Linked DNA regions of Homo sapiens: region 2 is linked to region 1. Evidence: promoter capture Hi-C in human tissues and cell types (Jung and others, 2019). All regions are on one chromosome and are shown on one strand. Each heading gives the region's core, a stretch centred on a gene start or on the middle of the fragment in contact. The rest is flanking DNA. Distances are from core to core; before and after follow the strand shown.

What was found. The method cuts DNA at HindIII sites, captures the fragments that hold promoters and counts their contacts. A contact is called where the count stands out against the background at its distance.
Region 2: a contact is called between a fragment that was not itself captured here and the fragment with the promoter of AHCYL2 in region 1, in 1 of the 25 tissues and cell types used here (hippocampus).

Annotation. Positions count from the first base shown.
Region 1 is chr7:129,223,253-129,227,120 of GRCh38, reverse strand. It overlaps AHCYL2 (adenosylhomocysteinase like 2), which reads right to left and starts at 2,091. Exons shown (of 17, transcript NM_015328.4): 1 at 1,682-2,091. The coding sequence starts at 2,044. RefSeq lists silencers at 1,758-2,007, 2,128-2,197 and an enhancer at 2,478-2,587. The HindIII fragment of the contact is 19,696 bases long and covers 1-3,868 here.
Region 2 is chr7:130,933,917-130,937,784 of GRCh38, reverse strand. The region is part of intron 6 of LINC-PINT (long intergenic non-protein coding RNA, p53 induced transcript); the gene reads left to right. Among named protein-coding and RNA genes, the nearest start is that of LINC00513, 22 kb to the right of the region's middle. The HindIII fragment of the contact is 9,181 bases long and covers 1-3,868 here.

The sequences.
Region 1 (3,868 bases), core at 842-3,341:
AAGAGGAAACTGATTTGTGTAATTTGGAAATTACCCAAAAGGTAGTAATGGGGGTACTAGGCTTCAAATCCAGGTCTGCCTGACTGTAAACTTCATGCTCTAAAAGCAATTTGTTAAACACTTTTAGCCTAAAGAAATCTAACCAAATTACAAAGTTTAGACAAAAACAGTCTTTATCACAAGAAAATGACTTAACGATACAAAGTATCTCAACAAGTCAGAAGTATGCTTTGGATTTCCAGACTCAGATCTAGGTACTCCCAGCACTGGTGCTGCTGCTGCCTCTCTTTTTTACTTTACTTTTTTTCTTTAAACCCATTTCTGCAGGATGCTGCCTCTTTCTACTCTAATTCTTCCCAGAGGAGTTTCATACTACAAACGACAAAGACATTGTCTAAAGCATTACAGAAATTCCTTCAGTCTTGCCTCTGACTTATCACCTAAATTTGTATCGTTAGGATGAAAGGATTATCCGCTATACCTTAATCATGACGCTATGACAACAAAAAGTTATGGTGGATCCAAGGTTCCAATTCAGCTGGTCCCACACAGTAAAACCAATGCACACTTCCCGTCTCTTTGTTGCTGTTCTGATAAAGCAATTAAAAACCATTCACAACAATTTAAAAAAAACATTAATCCCTGTGCCCATACTGTGTCTACGAAATTGAAGCTGTAAGCCCTTTTTATATGATCCACACTTCTGTCTTTTCCAATACTTGCCCTGTTTTTCTGTGCTGATTCAGCTTTAAGAGAGAAAGAAAGACAAGCTTTGAGAGAGACAGACAACTATGGATAGACAATGTACGGGTAATACAGGGCTATCATCCACCTAGGCAGTTACTTCTTGGTATTCTGAGACCTCCTCAAAACTGTCTGAAAGAAGCTGACGCCTAAGACCGAAAACCCCACAAAGATCGTCTTTCCCAAAAGTAGCAGCATTTCTTCCTATCACTTTCAGATTATAATAAAGCAATCAATAAGACATTCATTCTCTTCATACACAGCCTAATAATCCTGGTGACCAACTATACCCAGCAGGGAGGACAAAGCTCTTAACACGAAAGAGTGAGGAGAATCTCTCCATTACCCTTTTACATATTCAGGGAAGAGAGAATATCGCAGTCGCTGGAAATGAAGGGCACAGCATCGTGTTGCTGTATGGCCACGGTTGGCCACAGAAAGGCAGAAAGTCATCAACTGTATGGAAACCAGACAACTCTGACGATTTCTATGCAAGGTGACTACACCTTACTCGTTCTCCAAGTATTAAAGATCTTTTCATCCTTATTGCTGTGTGAACTCCCGTGAGCGGTAAGGTTTTTCTATACTATCGAGGTCTCTTCCCCGATAGGCTGGAAAATCACACCCGGGAGCGTGTTGGGGCCGCGGGACGTACTATTAGGTGTCTCTCCTCCCGCTGCCTATTCCAAGTAGTAGGGGAGAGCGCTACCTCCATGTTATTCAGAGCGAAGTACGGCCGTGCCTCCTGGAGTCTCCGCTCCCAGCACGAGGGGCCGGCTGGGGGGCATCTCTGAGAGAGTGGGTTTAAGGGGACAAGGGGTATCTCCGGTCCTGCGATCAGAAAGGAGGGCGTGGAGGGTGGTGCCGCCGTGCCGAGAGGATCTGCAGTTCCCCTCCCCTCCCTTCCTCTCCTAGAGAGGCAGCCCGGCCCCAGTACCTTCTTGACTGTGCGCGGCGCCTCGGTGACGGTGCCGTCGGGGCTGACCAGGGCCTCGCCGCCGTCGCGGTGCCGCTGGTGCTGGTGATGTGGGTCGCTCCGCTTCATGGCCGACGCCTGAGGCACCTTCCCGGCGGCGGGGCTGAGAGCGGCGGCGGGCCCCGAGCCCGGGCCGGGGACCGGGGGCCGCTCCGCGGCGGGAGCTGGAGCCTCAGGGTCTCCACCGCCCGCCGGGGGGGCCATGGCGCCCACGGCGGCCGTGCTCAGTCCTAGTTGCGACTCCGCCTCGGAGGGGCTCAGGTCCTTCAGCTCCACCTCAGGCACCTTGGCGGCAGCCGCGGCTGACACAACCTGCACCGACATCACCGCCTCCGCTGCAACCACCGGCTCAGACTCCAGCTCCTGCTCTTGGTCGGCCCCGCCTCCCACCTCCCTTCCTCTTCCCTCCCCCATGTCCCCACTCCTCCCCTCCATCGCCTCCTCTCCCACCCCCTTTCTCCGCCCGCCAGTCCCGGCCCCTCCAGCCCCGCCCCGCCCCGTCCCGGTCTGGCCTCGCGCGAGGCGCCACGGAACCTGTAGTGCGTTTGCTCCCGGCCGCACGCGGCGAGAAGACCGTGGGACCTCAGGCCCCGACCTACACTGCGCGCCCCATGGGCGGGGCCCGCAGCGTCCCCTGGGAGTTGTAGTCCTTTCAGCCTTTCCTCCACTAAGTGAGATTCAGCCGAGGAGAGGGAGCGCTAGGGCCGGCAGCTAACAGAAAGGAGTGAGGATAGGTGACTCGACGGAGGGGATGAGGAAGAGAAAGTCTCCAGAGGAGTTGTGACTTCCGGGGAGGGAACGCCAAGAAGCCTTAGGGGAGGGGAAGTGGTAGAGGAATGGCTCGTTGTCCTGACAGCGTGAAGTTCCTCCGCGCGTGCCCGTCTGCGATCACGTGAGCGAGTATTTAAAGGAGAAGCGGCGGCTCCAGGCTGGAAGTGGCTTTATTTTTCTTTGTGATATTGAGAACTCAACACCCTTCCAAACTTCAGTGGCTTTGTTTTTAGAAGGGATAAAGTAGGACCTTGCTTGCTGTGGCGCTTTCTGTCACATTCTGGGTTTGGAAGCTAAGATCATTCCTCAAAGAAGTTAGGTATCACTAGATCAAAATTCAAGGCTGAGGAATTACACGTTGCCTTAAACGAGGCCAAATCTTTTCACCTATAATTCTAATAGGGCAATCATCTGAAATTCAGATACATATATCAGCATAGAGGGATATGAATAGTGAATATGAGTAGTTAATTTCCTAAGTGATGGGATTTAAGGTGATTTTTACTTTGTACTTTTCTGTATTATTTTTAAATTTTACATTTAGAGGATGTAAGCAAAAAGACATGCACCGCAGCGTCCTTTTTAATAACAAAAAACTGTCTAAAACTAATGTCCAACAAATAGAGCAATTGTTACAGCCTTTGAAAATCGTTTGCCAGCTGGGCATAGTGGTTGACGTCTGTAATCCCAGCACTTTGGGAGGCCAAGGCCGGCAGATCACTTGAGATCAGGACTTCAAGACCAGCCTGGCCAACATGGTGAAACCCCATCTCTACTAAAAATACAAAAATTAGCCAGGCGTGGTGGCGGGCACCTGAAATCCCAGCTACTTGGGAGGCTGAGGCAGGAGGATCGCTTGAACCTGGGAGGCAGAGGCTGCAGTGAGCCAAGATCATGCCACGGCACTCCAGCCTGGACAACGGAGTGAGATGCCGTCCCAGAAAAAAAGGAAGAAAGAAAGAAAATTGTTTGCCAATACTTTTTAACAACAAGGTTTTCCCTTTTTCATTCTTTACTCTGAAAGCCAAAATGTGAAGAGGAAGCTAAGAAACTCTTGTGTCTGGTACACTTGTGAGCTCTGTGGAAATGGCAGTGCTCAGACGCCTTCCGATACATAGTGTGAGGCACAAATTTGGCGATCAGGAAATGAGAGACTCCAAGGCAGGACAACTTCACGAAGTGAAGATTTCCAAAATCGTAATAGCACAGGAAAGAAGATCAAGGCATTCTGGCTTTCAGAATAAATGCTTATGATAAAAACATTAAGCTAAGAAGCAAGAGACAAAATTGCACATGCCATAAGATTTTATGTAAAGAATACTTTAAAAAGCCTGTAATCCCAGCACTTTGGGAGGCCGAGGCAGGCAGATCACGAGG
Region 2 (3,868 bases), core at 308-2,807, 1.7 Mb before region 1:
TGAAAAATAGCTTCTTATTTTAAGGATGAACAGACTGGGATTTATTTCTGAAATTCTATAATTCTCAGTCAGTTGTAAGGCTTTCATTATATAATAGACTTTTTTTTTTAACCAACGGAAGTTGGACCTCTTCAAAATGTGAGATCCAAAAAGGTTTTGGATATTGTTTGAATAACTCTCTTCTCCAAAGGAGACTGTTTTTGAAAAATGATTCTTTCTGACATGTTAAAATTGAATATTTTTGACACGCCAAATGCACCAAAGTATTATATGTCATGTTTATTGCCGAGAGTAGCTATATAGCTTGTGGGAGACAGTTAACGTGAAGCTTTCTTGCATCTGGAAGTATGGGGAGAGAGAAGGCTTCTTCACACCCCCTTTCATGTTATATTCTACAGGGAAAGAATTTCTATCATGTAGACACTAGGTGACTCCCTTGTGGATAATTTCATTTAACAATGATTTCTGGGTGTTGCTCTATGCCAGGCACTGTTCTAGGAGCTGATGCGAAGGCTCAGCTGATGGGCTACAGACCTGAAGGCCTGTGCTCCTCAGTGGCACTCTGTAGGTAGATACAGAGCCACCATCTACTGGGTGCTTCTCCTGAGTGTGACAGTGTAGGCTGGGACACGATGCTACCCTTCAAGGAGCTTGAAGCTAAGGTTCTGTGCACAGATAAAATTAGAATAAATGCAGAGATGCTATAACAAGATGTCTTAGAAAAAAGAAAAACAAAGAATAAATGCAGAGAGAAAGAGAAATGTATAAAAGGTAGAGAGATAAACATACCACAAGTTCATAGAAAAGAAAGGTTGTGTGTTTATCTGTGGCTGGGATGATCAAGAAATGCTTCATGGATAAAGAGCCTTTGAGCCAGACATTGAAAGAAAGGTAATGTTGGACTTGAGGTCTTGGAGTATCCTCGTTGAAGGAAACATGAGCAAAGGCATAGGTAGGGATGGGAAATGCCGGGGTGCAGAGTGGGCAGGAATCGATTTGTAGTTGCTGGGCAATGATGTGTGTAAACCACTAAGGAGAAGATCAGGTAGCAAAGGTCCTTGGAGGCCAGAACCCAGAGGGCCTTGAATGGCACGTGACTAAATGATTTAAACTTAAGTTACTGGGGAGCAATGGAAGAATTTGAGTGGCTAGAGTCCCCATCCTGAAGAGGCCTTGCGGGGATCAGCATGTGGGTGCCTCTGGACTGTGAAATAGCCAGAGCTGGGAAGCCTTTTAGAGCTGCTGTTGTGGTCCAGGAGGGAGGTGGGGAGGGCCTGGGTGAGGGGAAGGCCACTAGATGGAGAAATTGAATTTATGAGATGGGATTTAGGAACTGCCTAGATAATAGGGGTTGGCCGATGGGAAGCAAAAATGCCCCCAGAGCTTTGAACCCAGGTGCCATTCATTATTTCTATGCCATCTGCCAGGCATTGCATAGCTATTATCTCATTTAATCTCCTCCTAATCTTGTGGGTTGGTATTTTCATCCTTATATCAGAGACGAGAAAACTAAGGGTCAGAGAAAATTAGCAATTGGTCTAAAATTGTACAGTTGTAACAGGATCTAGAACAGGGACTTCAGTACAGGCCTCCCTGACCCCCAAGCCTGTGTTCTTTCTACTGTACTAGGCTTGGAAGACAGCGTACGTGAGAGCAAAGACAAGCTCTGTCCACTCTGTGCATATTCAGTGTAGGTGCTGGTGAGATTCCCGCCTTCAGGTGTCCAGCAAGTGGTTGGAGACATGGAGCCGAATCTCAAGGACATTGGGAGGATTGAAGGTCAAGGCTTAAGAACCATCTGCATCCTCATTTATTTATTCAGCAGCTATTTGTTGTGTCTTCGTGGACCAGCTTGGCAGCATGAATGCTGTGACCAACAAGAGAGGTGTGTCCTTCACGGAGCTGCCAGGCTGGGAGGGAGCCCTGATGGCGTGGCTTGAGTGTAAGGCAGGAGGTGTGCAGATTGGCTGTGGGAACTTACTGGCCTAACCTTGTCAGGTCAGGGAAGCTCTCTAGAGGCAGTTGTGGTTCTCAACATGAGACTCAAATGATGAGGACCCAGTTAAAAAGTGGGAAAACAGCATACCCCAGGCCGTGGAAGTAGCGCGTACTCAGGCAGAGCAAGATAAGAACACAGTGTCTTTAAACCAAAAACCACGTGTGGCTGGAATGGAGGGAAGAGCAAGGAGATAAGACAGGTGAGCAGGAACCAGAACAAGAAATGCCCTGGAAGCTGTGAGACGCTTGGAATTCACCTGTGAAGAAAAGAGTAGCCTCATCTGAATTCCTTGCCTCGATTATGGTCTCCAATAGAAGATTAAATGGCTGTGGAGTCTAGAGGTTTTTTCCTTCGGTGTGGGCATCACCCCTTCTGAAAGGATGGTGTAATGGCTAATTGTATGTATCAGCTTGGCGAGGCCACAGTACCCAGATACTTGGTCAAGCACCAGTCTAGATGTCGCTGTGCAGGTAGTTTTTTAGATGAGGTTTAACATTTATATCAGTAGAAGGAGTGAAGCAGATTATCCTTTGTAATGTATGTAGGCCTCATATATCATCAGTTGAAGGCCTTAAGAGAAAAAGATTGAAGTCCCTAAAGAAGAAGGAACTCTGTCTCCAGTCTCCCTTCAGACTCAAGACTGCAACATCGGCCTGGCACGGTGGCTCACGCCTGTAATCCCAGCACTTTGGGAGGCTGAGATGGGTGGATCGCTTGAGATCAGGAGTTCAAGACCAGCCTGGCCAACATGGCAAAAACCTGTCTCTATTTAAAAACACAAAAATTAGTTGGGCATGGTGGCAGGCGCCTGTAGTCCCAGCTACTTGGGAGGCTGCGGCATGAGAATCACTTGAACCCAGGAGGCAGAGGTTGCAGTGAGCTGAGATCATGTAACTGCACTCTAGCCTGGGCGACAGAGTGAGACTCTGTCTCAAAAAAAAAAAAAAAAAGACTGCAACATCAACTCTTCCCTTGGTCACCAGCATGCCCTGAAGATTGTGGATTTGTCAGTCCCTGTAATTGCATGAGCCAGTTCCTTAAGGTAAATATCAGTATCTACCCCCACCCCCACCACTCTCTCTCTCAATCTCAATCTCAGTCTCTCTCTCTCTCAATCTCAATCTCCCTCTCAATCGCCCTCTCCCTCTTCCTCTTCCTCTCCCTCTCTCCCTCTTGGTTCTGTTTCTCTGGAGAACCCTGACTAATGCAGATAGGAAGATAAATAAATTTAAGTTGTTTGGCTCCAGTTGGTATTAGCAGAAAGCTGCATCAGGCTTCTCTAGGTGTTCTTGGTGTGTGCGTATATTGCTTTTTGTATAGATGAGAATAGTGAAATATAGAAGGGAAGTGATGTACCCACAGTCATGCAGACAGTTGATGGGAGAGCCAAGGAGAAAACTCAAGTTTCAAACCTCTGGTGTAGTTCAGTCGCTTTCTTGCTATTTGGCCCTCATGTTTTTATTAGCAAGGTAATAAAGTTATTGAGTTTGCCATGCGTAATTATTGGTAATGTTTATGGAATGTTCTCTGTATGTCAGGTGCTGTTTTAGTTGCCCTACAGGTGTTAGTGATTTTAATCCTTACAACTACCTAATGAGATAGGGAATAATACTATCCCATTTTACAGATTTTAAGCAATGAGTCCAGTGAGCGATGTGGTCATTGCTACACAGCTAGTGAGTGACAGAGCTGGACTGAAGACTCAGGCAGCCTGGCTGCAGAGGTTGTGCTATTGACTACTCCACCGCTTCTCAGCTTAATGCCCCGAGCACAGCTTTTCATCTCTCCCTTTGGAACCATTGTCCAGAATATTTATTATGGTAGTGTGCTCTTGGTAGGGCTTGTATTGAAAGAGAAAATGCTTATAAG